4 separate regions of the Homo sapiens genome follow, and regions 1, 3 and 4 are each linked to region 2. The links are contacts of gene promoters, found by promoter capture Hi-C in blood cells and fetal thymus (Javierre and others, 2016). All regions are on one chromosome and are shown on one strand. Each heading gives the region's core, a stretch centred on a gene start or on the middle of the fragment in contact. The rest is flanking DNA. Distances are from core to core; before and after follow the strand shown.

Region 1 (3,543 bases), core at 137-2,636, 600 kb after region 2:
TTAAGCAGGGTAAATAATGAGAATTTTTTGGACAAAATTATGAGGTTAATCTATAGCTAACTGATGACTGATGATATAATATCTACGAGATAAACTCAATATTAATTTCTGGAGAAAGAATGCCCTGCTGTGGCCATACAGAGAGTTTGCAAAGAAATATTTCCTGTATTTAAAGGGTTTGTGTTCTGCTTCCTTGCAAAACCAGCTACTGTGCCACTTAGAGCACAGTAATACATGGCTGAGTCTTCCTCTTGAGCAAATGGTTTCTTCAGGTGGAAAGATGTCTCGCCTTTGTTAAGGTCAGCAGTGAAGCCTTTGATGCTCTCTCTAGAGATGTGTCTCAAGAGTAACTGGAGGCGTTGTCTGGAGTACTGGACATACCAGAAGAGTTCAGGACTCCCAGAATAGGAATAGTTGCACTTCAGCTCCACTGGGGCCCCTTTAAAGACAGAGAGGAGCTTCTCGGGCTGAGTCACTCTCTGGGCTCTTGTTCCTCCTATAACACCAATTCTGGATCAGGAAAAGTCTTACAGACTGGGGATAATATTCATTAAAGTTATTCTAAATCAGAATACCATAGAAAAATAGAACAAAAAGAGGCTTTACTTACTGAGTATAAATATTATCACAAGCACTGAGATGAGGGTGGGCTTCATGTCTGACCTGTGGAGAAACAGGAAGCTATTTTCTGGAGGTCTTTTCTGGAAACGATTCAGCCACATAGACACTCTGACAGAGAGGTGGATGAGTTTACCCGGCATGTATAGCCAAAAGCTATTCTTCAAAAAGATCAGGTTGTTTTTGGCTATCAAATTCAATTTGTGTAACATCTCTCTCTAGAGGCCAAATACAATACTGCAGCTAACTCAGGCTTCAGGAAGCCTTCAAATTCAGAGAATGAGAATTTCCTCCTCAGTAAAAGTGTGATGCTATACTAATTGCAATAGAATGTTATTTTTAAAATCCACATATAGGGCTTAATGAAGTAGAATACAAAGTTCAAATATACAAATACATTTGGAAACTTAGTTAAAATGGGGGAAAATGTGCAATCCTAACAATCATTTGGAAGTTAACAGATAAGTTAGGATGCCTACCTTAATACCTGTTATCAAATAAAGTTCAAAGGACGTAACATTTAATATTTTAAGTAAAATAAAAAATTTTTAAAATAAATTTAGAATGGTGATGGATTTTCTAAGCATAACAGTCAAAAAACATAAGAAAAAATATTGATCGATTACACTTCATAGAAATTTAAATTTCTACACAGATATTTTAGTGAAATGTTTAAACATTGCCAGATCAAGTTATTTTATTTTCCGTCCACCATCATTGATTCTGACCTTCCCCACACAGGAAATGGCCCTTTGGGATTTTAGTTCTATACACTTTAAAAAAAAAAAAAGAAAAAAGAAAAGAAAAGAAGGCCATAAAAAAAGGAACAATCATTTGGCTCAGAAAGACGGAAATTCTAGAAAAATGGTAGATTGAAAGAGTCCCCAATCCCTGGTCCTTAACCAAAGATTTTCTCCAGCTCCCAGTCAAGCTGTGTTGAGAGAGCTCAAGTGAGGTGTCCCATTTTGGGGTCAGATATAAATCTGGGGTCAAGTAGACAGAAGCTCCGGGATTAAGAGCAGAAAACTATGGGTCATGGAGATAGCGTCTCCGGCAGATATATTTTTTTCTAAAAAAGAAAACTAATTCTCTTGAGAAAGTCTCTCCTCTGGCCTCCAAATAGCTGAGAAAAAAGTAAGAGATATGCTGTTACTTAAATGAGGTGGAATACAATGAGATCAGGGAGCAAAGAGATTTTCCTCTAGTTTTCCTGCAGTGTACGGGCGTAATTGCTGACGTCAGTACCCTGCTGAGTGCCGCACTGCTGACTAGAGACACAGAAATGTCTAGGTTTTTATGCTCTCAGGATTGCCTCCACTTAAAGTACCCAGTAATCGGACAAGTCAGGAGGGGAGTGAAGAAAGGGAAAAGATATCTCAGAGACAAATGGGAGCCTCATCTGGATCAAGTACAGCCTGAAAAAATTATCAGGGTCAGTGGCCCAATTTCCTTAGCCAAAAAATCAGGACATGTGATTTGAAAAGTGATTGTGATTTTATTTATAAGAAAGCTCTCACAAAGAAAGAATATCTCATCGAATGCATCGTTTATTTAATCACCCTTAAAGGAGTAAATACAATACAATTAAATTAAGAGAATTCTGTTAACATAGGACATATAGTCATCATGAACATATAAAATGTCTCCAGTGAGACTTTGGTTGATAGAGAAATAGCACGTGTATATGATGGCCACCCCAGCTTATTTCCATCTCTCTTCTTCTATCCAACACTTCTCCATTCACTTTGCAGCCCCACCTGGTCAATTCTGCTCTGTGAACAAGAGGTAGAGGTCACATTTTTTATTGTGGTAAAAAAACACATAACATTAAATTTACCATCTTGACTATTTTAACATGTACAATTCAGTAGTGGTAAGTATCTTCACATTGTCGTGCATCAGATCTCTAGAACTTTTTAACCTTGCAACACAGAAACTATATGAGGCATAGACCACATTTTGAAATTCAGTTAAATGTGTCATCTTTTTTTCCCCCAACCTCTTATTTCTTTTACTCTCTTTTATCCTCTCTCTGAATATTTTCATTATTTTTTTCTCATTTCTTCTCATTTCCTTTTTCTTGTTTTTCTAGTTTCAAAGGAGGTATAAAAGAAGGTGGAAATTATTGAAATAATTTCAAAGTCAGAATGGAGACTCATATTTTAGAAGTTTTAGTCATAAAAATTAAAGCTGTAAGGCTTCCAGCTTTATCATTTCCCTTGTTGATTTCTAAGATCAGTCTTCTTGGGAGACCGTCTCTGTGACACCCATCACAGCCACAGAACATCTTTGCAGATGAATAAATGGAGACTCCCCCTGTCCGTTTCATATATGACTAGTTCAGATGCTTTGCTAACTGATGCTAACTCTCAGTTTTTCGCTGAGTCAGCTATCTCAGAACTTGAGGGAAAATTTCCTCATTTAGAGTAAAGCCTAGAGAGCCTCCTAGTGGTCTGAAACCATCAGGCCCACTAACTCATCTGTGGAGTCCCAGAGCCTTCATCCCAATTCTTTCCTGAGGAACCACCCAGATTGTCAAGAGCAAAAAAACTGTCAGGCTTATGGTGATTTTTTTTTTTTAAAAAAAGGAAACTGGTTTCTTCCTCCAAATTCCATGTACAAGAGATTACCATATTAAAATATTTTATCAAATTGCTTCCTCAAGGTTTAATGTGATTTCTCCAATTTATTTCAAAGTAAGTCTTTAGTAATTTATTGAGGTCTACTGTAAGCTAGATCTTGTGCTAGGTCTTACGAAATTAAAAAATTAGTAAGACATTTTCTCTACTCACAAGACATTGCAGTTTAGTGGGAAAGACAAACATGCACATGTGTGTGTTTTCATATATATCAAGTAACACCTCAAAAAGTACAAAATGAACCCAGAAATAAGGAGCCATTTCTTAAAACAAAGGATGGTTAGAC
Region 2 (3,293 bases), core at 794-3,293:
AAATTGATGCTTCCTGCCATATTATATTGAAATAAGAACCAGCTTGTTATCCACTCTTTTTTTTTCTTTCTCAGCAACATAGGTTTAGGCTGAACTTATGTTCATATAGCTGCACAAATCTCCACGGGTATGAATATAAATCTATCTATTCAAATAGACTCTAAAGGTTTCTTAGGTTATTTCTCTTCTTTCTAGAACTTAAGTAAGGCTTTGATCACCACTGATAATACATCCGTTAGTTAATGCGTGTAGAGTTTCCAGTCTAAAGGCAAATAAAAAGTGAAAAGGGGCCGGCGCAGTGGCTCACTCCTATAATCCCAGCACTTTGGGAGGCTGAAGCAGGCAGATCACCTGAGGTCAGGAGTTCAAGATCAGCTTGGCCAACATGGCGAAACCCCGTTTCTACTAAAAATACAAAAATTAGCCGGGCGTGGTGGCAGGTGCCTCTAATCCCAGCTACTCGGGAGGCTGAGGCAGGAGAATGGCTTGAACCCAGGAGGTGGAGGTTGCAGTGAGCCGAGATCGCACCATTCACTGCACTCCAGCCTGGGTGACAAGAGCAAAACTTCATCTCAAAAAAAAAAAAAAAAAAAAGTGAAAAGGCAGGAACGCTGTTGTTCACCTGCTGTTTTAGGAATTTTGCTCACGTACAGTTCAAAATATTAAGAAGCTGAAAATAAAGTACCTGGTCATGTGTGGAAAAACTTACAGCTAAAAGGTGAGATGAACTGGGTCTAGAAGGTCGGATTCACGTGAAATTAAAAGGGCAACGAAAGCCAGAACTTAATTTCTTAAAAAAAGTTAAAACAGGCCGGGTGCAGTGGCTCATGCCTGTAATCCCAGCACTTTGGGAGGCCGAGGCTGGCGGATCACAAGGTCAGGAGTTCGGGACCAGCCTGGCTAACAATGGTGAAACTCCGTCTCTACTGAAAATACAAAAATTAGCCGGGCGTGGTGGCGCGTGCCTGTAGTCCCAGCTACTAGGGAGGCGGAGGTTGCAGTGGGCCGAGATCGCGACACTGCACTCCAGCCTGGCCGACAGAGCAAGGCTCCGTCTCAAAAAAAAAAAAAAAAACAGTTAAAACCCTCAAAATAATCCCACTTGTTAAAATACAAAACCTGAAACCATTTCAGTTTCTTCTGCAAAATGAGTTGGAGAGAGTAGGGTTGAACCAGGCATGCTCTTTCGGGCCTTTCGACGCTGACATCCCGGGATATTACACCAGGTTCAAGATACCAGCTTGCGGAAAGAGAGCTGCTAAACTTGACCATATGCTTTTTGCACGACATTCGACAGCTGTCCCTCCCTTCACCAGCTCTTTTAAGGCTGCAAATATATCTGATTCACGTGAGAGTCCCTACAAGTTAGTACAACGTCAGGCCCCAAGGAGGCGCCCAATAAATGTTGGCATTGCAGGGCCAGATCCCGAGTTCCAGTTCAGAACCCTGCTGAGGTCAGGCTTCCTCCCTGCCTCCCGCCCCTCACCACACCCACTCACTCCCCCAAGTAATTAAGTCTAAACTGGGGCCTGTGCAGTGATTGGCCGCGCCGGGTCTCACTGCGGATGAACTTGACTTGTTCCAATGATCTGTGACAGACATCTGCAGACAGCGCCCTTAACAGAATTAGGGTCAGGCTGGTATCAAACCCCAGGAACGCCAGGCATTGCCTCAAAGTAGATGCAAACCGTTAAATCTTCCAGGACTCAGAAGGACCAGAGAGAGCCGGATACCTCTGGTTAGCTACGCGGTCCCCAGTAAAGCTTATTCCCCTCTTCCTCCCAGTGTGTCTTGTTGCCAGAGCAACTGTGGGCGTCACCGAGCTGACGGGCGGAAACAGAACAGAAAGAGTACACGTCCCCAGCTCATTGATAGGGCCATTGCGCAGACGCATTAACTTTTCTGAGTTGTAGTTGAGTCTGTTGATGCAGTCCGCGTCTGCGCATTAGTTGTTACGCGCCCTGGCCGGCCTCAGCGCCTGCGCAAATTGGCACACCGGGGAGGGCGGAGTTAGGTCACGAGGGTGCGCATGCGCAAACAGCACATCCGGTGTGGTCGACGGGTCCTCCAAGAGTTTGGGGCGCGGACCGGAGTACCTTGCGTGCAGTTATGTCGGCGTCGGTAGTGTCTGTCATTTCGCGGTTCTTAGAAGAGTACTTGAGCTCCACTCCGCAGCGTCTGAAGTTGCTGGACGCGTACCTGCTGTATATACTGCTGACCGGGGCGCTGCAGTTCGGTTACTGTCTCCTCGTGGGGACCTTCCCCTTCAACTCTTTTCTCTCGGGCTTCATCTCTTGTGTGGGGAGTTTCATCCTAGCGGGTAATGGTTCTATAAGTGATCATAATAATAATGTGTTACTTTGGTGTGCTGCTTTTGTTTTCATAGTACTCTATATCAGACCACCGCCCCTTGAAGTTATGAGAAGAGCCTGCATTGCCCTTTTGTTGTGAATGGGGAAATTGAGGCTCAGAAAGCTTAGATTATATGCCTAATACCAAACGGCTCCGTAGGAGTTGGACTTAAAAGTCTAAAGAAACCACCTTCGTGCCGCTACTCCACTTGGTGATCCACTTCACTTAATATTGGTCCGGGGAAAACCCTATTCCAACTTTAACTTAGGTTTAACACAACTCTAAAATTAGTAGACTTTTCAAATGAAAAACCCAACCTTGAATCATCTCTGTCATCTTGGCCTAATCATTACCAATCTCCGGTGAAACGTTTCAATGAAAGTGCAAAGAATATAAATACTGGTGCTTTTCTTGTTGAATCATCCTTTACTTGATTTTGCCTTTTAGCTGCTACTACTTTTTTTCTTGTTGAGGAAGCTGTTATTTCACTGTCCTGAACCCAATTTTTGTTCACATAACTCTATTTTAGCCTTATTTTTCCTTTTGATTCCAGGATTTGGTAACCTTGTAGACTGCTATATTTAGCGAGAACAGTCTCCATCAATTTTTGTTAAAATCTGACTTTTCTTGCCCAACGGGGATTCAGTGAATACTGAAAACAGGCGTGGCCTCTATCACTGGTATCACCTGCTACTTTGACTTTGAAAACATGCCAGCATTCATGGTTTCTTTTCAGTGTGATCATCAGTCAGGTCATCAGTTGTATTTTCAGTCCAATATGAGGCATTATGGTAAAAGCTTTGGCACATGTTCTTTATCCGTAAAGAGTTTATGGTCTAGTTGGGGTACAGACAAAATACAGCATTGGAATTGTCTGGAGGCCTGGCACAGTGGCTCATGCCTGTAATCCCAGTACTTTGGGAGGCCGAGGTAGGCAGATC
Region 3 (3,845 bases), core at 645-3,144, 630 kb after region 2:
TGAGGACTTGAAATATTCTCAATACAGAAATGATAAGTGCTCTTGGTAATAGATATTCTAAACACCCTGCCTTGATTATTGTATATTCTATGCACCTAACAAAATATCACATGGACCACATAAATATGTACAAATATTATGAATCAATTAAAAATAAAAACTTTTAATAAAGCTTTTAAGCTATATTAAAAGTCAAAGTCAATGTATGTGTGAGAAAGGCAGAGGGGTATATATGTGTGTATGAGTTTCCATCAAATGGCAACTCTTGGGTCAGTAAGACCACTTATTTCTAATAGCCACTTTCCTGAACTAAAAAATCAGACATAACAGATTCTATTATAGAAATCTGAGTGAGATTCTTGCAATTCAGGGAGAATTTCACACTGTATAGCTCTTCTTAATGTCAGGCCACATATTCCTATACTACTCTGTTATATACAACTTTTAAAGAAATTTCTTATAACTCAAAATAAGTCTTCCAAGATGAAATGGCCTAAAATCTAGCTGAACAAAACAAACATGGTTGCAGCCCATAGCCTAAGCAATATTTTTTAACAAGGCCAGGAACTGGAGGAGCTTGGACTTTGTCATTCCATTTTGCACCAATGATGCATCTGTGCCAAAACAGCTCTTGCTTGGGTTGGTGCAATTGAGATGAACCTGCCTTTAGTACCTAGACTGTCAATAAAACCCAATGTGCCTGTTCATTTGTCCTGTCCCTCTTATTGCCTTTCTTGTATAAAGCTGATACCTAGGAATCAATCTCTAAAAGTTATAGGTTTTGTTCATCCTGACATAACCAGCAAACCAAATCTATCAGGGAGCTATCTATGCAAGAAACTCAATTGAGTCTATAGATAAACAAGGACAGACAACTACTGTTCTCTTCTGTTCCACAACGTGTTTCATGTCCTTGAAGAGGCCAACAATGAAGCAGGCTTTTTTCCACTCAAGAGCCATGTAATCGGTATTCACCAAAGATGGCTGAGGCTAACCTTTCCCATTCCCACCAACAACTACCTAGGAAATAGAATGAGGGAATAGATGCTAATATTGAAATTCCTTTCTCCAAGGGTACATTGCACTTGACAGAAACCATGACCATTTCTCGGTAAATACAAAAACCAGAGGAAAAGTGAAAGTAACACAAGCTGGCAGCCACTACAGTCTTGGAAAATTTACTAAAACAAAATCTAATATCTGAAGCAAAGTCTGTAAGAAGCACCCCTCTTTTCAAGATTTGTAACAAAGCATAATATAAATGCATCAACAGATCTAATGCTGTGGTGGACCCAAGAACCATATCAGTGCTAGCAAAATGACAGACTTTGTACAGCATCAAACCTGCCCTATGGACCATTGTTTGTCTAATTATGTCTAAAGAATATATAAAACTCTTTCATATCCCCAAAGGACAGTGTTCTGATAATCAACCAATAAGAAAAACCACTGACCTCTCCCCCACTGGTTTTACACCGTCTTCACCTTCCGCAATAGTACATTTTCTAGATATGTCTTGTGAACCTCAGAGTATTGCAAAACAAGATTTCATTTAAAAGCAATTTATCTTAAAATAAACGCTTCTGAAAATGGTGCTAATTTTGAGTCTATTTTTAAATATTTTAGTTTATATTTTAGGTACAAGAGGTACATGTGCAGGTTTGTTACATGTGTATATTACACCCAGGTGGTGAGCATAGTACTCGATAGGTACTATTTAATGCACCCCCCAGTTCCTGCTCCCTTTGGTAATCCATAGTTGTTGCCATGTTTACGTAGGTTCTGTGTTTGGCTCCCACTTATAAGTAAGAACATGTGATATTTGGTTTAACATTTCTGCATTAATTCACTTAGTATAATGGCCTCCAGATCCATTCATGTTGCTGCAAAGAAATTATTTCATTCTTTTCTGTGGCAACATAGTATTCCATGGTATATATGTACCACATTTTCTTTATCCAATCCACCATCAATGGGCACAGAGTTTTATTCCACATATTTGCTATTGTGAATACCATGGCAATAATAATAAGAAGCCATGTATCCTTTTGGTACAACAATCTATTTTCCTTTGCATATATATCCAACAATGGGAATGCTGGGTAAAATGATAGCTTCGTTTTATGTTCTTTGGGGTATCTCCAAACTGCTATCCACAGGCACTGAACTAATTTACATTCCCATCAATAGCATATAAGTGTTCCCTTTTCTCTGCAGTCTCAACAGTATCTGTTGTTTTATAATTTTTTAATAATAGCCATTCTGACTGGTGTGAGATGATATCTCACTGTGGTTTTGATGGATATCTCTCTGATGATTAGTGATGATGAGCACATAGCAAGAGAAACTCTTAGACCCTGGCCAGTGGGGAGAAGTGAGGGTCTAATGCTCTCTTTGTATGCTAGAACAAGTATAGAAAAACAAACATATTGTCTTCTGGAGCCAAGCAGCAACTCTGTGTCCTGCTATTGGTTTGTTATCTCCTCCCACATCCCAAGAAAACAGGAAAACTCTTGTGAATGTGGCTCCCAGACTATTTTATCAGTGGCAGCTTTCCAATATAGATTCCCCATCTTCATAAGTATACAAACACAAGAATCAGCACAACCTTGTCTCAAATTGACTGACACAAATGTATATGCTTCCCCTGATATCTTGACAGTTGGGTTATGTCATGAATGGCTACAGAGGTTGCAAATATTGCAAATACTCACTGACACTGCTCACGTAGTTTAACCAAAGTGATGCAATGCTTATCCAAATCAAGTTTAATAATAAATCCCAAATTTGATTAACTTGTGCATTTTGGGTTATGCCCGGGGGAAAGGGGCCATATAACATCTCTATATTGGGAATGGTAGGGTTTTTTCTTTGTGGTAATTCAAAGAAAGACCAACATTTCAGTCTGAACTTTCATGTATGGGTTATAATAGATAAAATACTACATGCTAGCTGTCTGTACTTTGGAACTTACTCACATTTGGCTGGATCAAGCATAATTAAGGTTAATACTGCATGTTGGTCTCATTCTGCTTCTTAGAGTTCTGCTGATAGTAGCCTTAATTAAATGCTACTTGAGACAAATGTAATGCATTTAGTCATGACATCTCTCAGTTACACAAATCAGAATGACTGACAAAGTGGCATACTCATAAAATAAATTTCTAGCAACTAACCCAGTGTAAGACCATGGAGTGGATATTATTGAAAGGCAGTCCACCATGAGTCTCTTGTACTCAAACGTGACTTGATGAGTGTGCCAACAGTGTAATGACATGAGCATTCTACCTGGATCACTTCTCAGAGTTATGCCAGCAAGCAACCTTGGGAGATGAGGTAATGTCTCCCTCTGAGACAAAGAGCAAGCTGGCTGAGTGCTTGTTATAAAAGCAATGAACTTCCTAAGCTCAGAGTTCCTCACCTGTGACATAATACCACTTCATGGGTAGCATCCCTTACTACCCATTACATCATCTTTTGAGGACTTAAAGGAAGGAGAAACTGATGGAAATATATCAGTGTTCATGCTGTTTGTTGTGCCATAAGTAATAAAAATCCTTTGTCTCTTACTAAGGAGCCCTGTGTTTTTATTGACAGCCTCAATGAAACAAGCTTATTAGCTTGTAAGAAGGGACAAAATCCAAGACCTGACAAATCCTCACTAAAGGAGTTGTAAAGATTTGTAAAGTAAAGATTTAAATTACACATGAGAAAGGTAAGTTTCTCCAAACTGGTATGAAACAGGCCTTTTATGAAGGATATAACATACATAGCTGAGAAAGGTAAGTTTCTCCAAACTGGTATGAAGCAGGCATTTTTCGGAGGATATAATATACATAGCCCCA
Region 4 (3,678 bases), core at 121-2,620, 660 kb after region 2:
CTTTCTGTTCCTGGAAACTTGCTTGTGATAAAGGAGTCTAAAGCATAGTTGTTCAAATTAACCAGTATGAAAATTTCTCACATACAGGATCATAGCTTAATTCTTCCTAATGACTAACATTATTTAAAGCATTGTTTAATCTGTGCACAGTCAGTCATTGTTATGAAGCATTATTTCACAAGATTATGCAAGGTTTAAGGACATAAATGGGAATAATTTTCAAGAACATTCCAAAAATCTGAAGTCTATACAACCCATCAACTTGAACAATATTTACTGGTCCAGCAATTTCTAAAATAAAACTTGGTACACTTCACAATAAAAGAAAAATACAAAAACAATAATATGGAAGCCAAAACTTTGTCATAAATATGATTGAATAAATTTATCATTTTCCCCTTTCTTCATAGAAATAATCTAAATGCAACAAGAAATTTAAGAACAATAACACTATATCTATAATTGGGGTCAAATTAAGAGAAAGAATCCGAATATTTTTAAGAGCCAACCAAATTAAATGAGCTTGCACAAATGCACAGGTACAGTGAATCATCCTAGATCCAAATGAAACAATCCACCAAACCAGGCATTAGAACATCTTTGGCCTTCTTAAAGTTTGTTAATTTCAAGCATTATATTAATAGATTTTCAAGTATTAAATCATCTTTACATTCCCAAAATAAATTCAACTTAATTATGTTGTTTTTTTTTGTGCATGCATTTGTCCCTTCTCACTTTTTTTTTCTGGATCATGTTAGTATTGTAATTATTTTCAAAATATCATGTTGTGGTTTTATCATTGATTTTGTTATTTTCCTTTGAGCCATTAATTTCTTGCTTTTATTTTTAATTCCTTCAATCTACTCTCAACCATTTTATTTTACTGTTAATTTTATAACTTCTGGAGTTGTATATTGAATTGGCTTACTTTTATATTTCATTGTTTGCTGAAAATTCATCAATTGGAGTCAAATGACCCAAGTTTAAGTGTTGGATGTTTATTTACTAGATCTGTGGACTGAGGTAAAACTTTCTGCTTCTATATCTCTCTAGTATGGAAACCAGAGTGCACATTATTTTCTCCTGGTTTAGTATTTTCAATTACTAACTAAACATTGCTTTAAAAATATGTATCCAAATACAAATTCTTCATCTTGTTCAGCACATCATCATGTGTTAGAATATTTATTCTTAGAAGGACATCATTCTTTGACTTCTCAACATTTAAACTAAATTTTGAAGGGCCTGATGTATTAAAGATATAAAATGATTACATTATGAAGTTGATGCTTCTATGTATGCTTGAAGTTTTGCAGCCTACATGAGTTATCCTGAGGGACATGAGACAAATGTCCTGTTCTCCAATCTGCTGTCACAACACCTGAAATTCCACCATTAAATATGCTTGTAGTTAGAACTAATAAATGAATTCAACAAACTTGAAGGATACAGAAACAGCACACAAAAATCAATTGCATTTCTATAAACTAACAATGAACACTTTGGAAATTAAGAAAATAATTCCATTTGCAATAGCATCAAAAAGAATAAAATACTTAGGAATAAACTTAAACAACAATGCTAAAGACTTGCACAATGAAAACAAAAATGTTGCTGAAATAAATTAAATAAGGCACAAATAAGTTGAAAGACATCTGATATTTATGGATTGGAGAATTTAACATCATTAAAATGTCGATGCTACCAAAAGCAATCTACAGATTCAATTCAATCCCTATCAAAATCCCAATAGTGTTTTTGCAGTAATAGAAAAATCCATCCAAAAGTTCATATGGCAGCTTGTGAAACCCCAAATAGCCAAAATAATCTTGAAAAGGAACAAGTTTGGAAGGTCTAACACTTCCTGATTTCAAAGCTGATTACAAAGCTACAGTAATATAGCAAAAGCTGTGTGGTGCTTGCATAATGACAGTCATATAGACCAATGCAATACAATAGAGAGCCCAAAATTAAACCTTCACATTTACAACCAAATTATTTTAGGAAAGGGTCCTAAGACTGTTTAAGGGTGAAAGGAAAGTCTTTTCAACAAACAGTGTTGGGAAAAACTGGATATCCACATGCAAAAGAGTGAAACTGCACTCTTATCTTACAGGAAAAGCATCGCGATTTAGATTTGGCAATAATTTCTTTTTCTTTTTTTCTTTTTTTTCAGCCTTCAGAAAGCATGGAATTGGCAATAATTTCTTGGCTATAATACCAAAAGCATAGGATGCAAAAGAAAACTTAGATAAACTTGACTACATCAAAATTAAAAACTACTGTGCATCAAAGGGCACAATTAATGGAGTGACAGAGTGGATAAACAACCCATGGAATGGAAAAAAAAATATCAAATCATATATCCGACAAAAGATCAATATCCAGAATATATAAAGAACTCTTACAACTCAGCAGAAAAAAAAGACAACCCAGGCCAGGCGCGGTGGCTCACATCTGTAATCCCAGGACTTTGGAGGCCGAGGTAGGTGAATTGCTTTAGCTCGGGAGTTCAAAACCAGCCTGGGCAACATGGTGAAACACCATCTTGAAAGAAAGAAAGAGAGAAAGAGAGAGAGAGAAAGACAGACACCCCATTTCAAAATGGGCAAAGTAGTTGAATAGGCATTTTTCCAAGGAAGATATACAATTGGCCAATAAGCACAGGAAAAGATACTCATCATCACGAATTATTAGGGAAATGCAAATAAAAATCATAATGACATACTACTTCATGCCCATTAGGATGGCTACTATTCATATCAAAAATAATGATAGTAAAAGAAGTGCTGATGAAATGTGGAGAAATCAAAACACCTGTGTCCTGTTGGTGAAAATGTAAAATGGTACAGCAGCCACTGTGGAAACCAGTTTGGCAGTTCTTTAAAAAATTAAAAATAGAATTATTATGTGATTCAGCAATTGCACTTCTGGGTATATCACTTCTAAAGTTGAAAGAATTGGGGGATATACCCCAAATATTGAGACGTTTGCATACTCTTGTTGAGAGCAGCTTATTCACAATAGCCAAAAGATAGAAACAGCTCAAATTTCCATTGATAGATAAATAGTTTAACAAAATAGGGTATGTACACACAATTGAATAATATGCAGCCTTATAAAGGAAGGAAATTCTGAAAGCCTGCTTCATACTATGACATGAATGAACTTTGAGGACATTACGCTAAGTGAAATAAGGCAGTCACAAAAAAAAATTGTATGACTCTAGTTATACAAAGTACCTAGAGTAGTCAAACTTATAAAGACAGAAAGGAAGGCTGGTTTCTAGGGATTAGGTGGAGAAGAAAATAGAGAGCTATTGTTTAGTAGTCACAGAGTTTCAGGTTTCCAAAATGAAAAGAGTTCTCAAGATGGATGGTAGTGATGGTTGCACAACAAAGGAATGTACTTAACACTACTGAAGTGTCCATTTGTAAATGGTTAACATGGCAAAATTTATGTTATATATATTTTTCCACAATTAAAAATAATTTTAAAAATTTTTAAACATATTTCTCTTTAAGATTTATACTATACACATCTACTTTTCAAATGCAAATACAAGAGGATGTTACAATACAAGATCACTTACCAACCAACCATTACCATTCAAAGCTTAGGGAAGGAGAAAATGGTGTTGGAGGTAGAAGGAGAAGATTGAAAAGAATGAGGATTTTG

Evidence for each region. The method cuts DNA at HindIII sites, captures the fragments that hold promoters and counts their contacts. A CHiCAGO score of 5 or more calls a contact.
Region 1: a fragment that was not itself captured here is called in contact with the fragment with the promoter of DAD1 in region 2 in 2 of 17 cell types (activated CD4 T cells and non-activated CD4 T cells); the score reaches 5.1 in activated CD4 T cells.
Region 3: a fragment that was not itself captured here is called in contact with the fragment with the promoter of DAD1 in region 2 in 1 of 17 cell types (total CD4 T cells); the score reaches 5.0 in total CD4 T cells.
Region 4: a contact is called between a fragment that was not itself captured here and the fragment with the promoter of DAD1 in region 2, in 1 of 17 cell types (activated CD4 T cells). The highest score is 5.5, in activated CD4 T cells.

Annotation. Positions count from the first base shown.
Region 1 is chr14:21,987,609-21,991,151 of GRCh38, reverse strand. It overlaps TRA and TRAV16. Among named protein-coding and RNA genes, the nearest start is that of OR4E1, 320 kb to the right of the region's middle. The HindIII fragment of the contact is 4,471 bases long and covers 1-3,543 here.
Region 2 is chr14:22,587,974-22,591,266 of GRCh38, reverse strand. DAD1 (defender against cell death 1) reads left to right here and starts at 2,043. Exons shown (of 3, transcript NM_001344.4): 1 at 2,043-2,320. The coding sequence starts at 2,110. RefSeq lists enhancers at 1,763-2,404, 2,405-3,046. The HindIII fragment of the contact is 712 bases long and covers 1,766-2,477 here.
Region 3 is chr14:21,960,404-21,964,248 of GRCh38, reverse strand. It overlaps TRA. Among named protein-coding and RNA genes, the nearest start is that of OR4E1, 290 kb to the right of the region's middle. The HindIII fragment of the contact is 3,440 bases long and covers 175-3,614 here.
Region 4 is chr14:21,930,072-21,933,749 of GRCh38, reverse strand. It overlaps TRA. Among named protein-coding and RNA genes, the nearest start is that of OR4E1, 260 kb to the right of the region's middle. The HindIII fragment of the contact is 4,495 bases long and covers 1-3,617 here.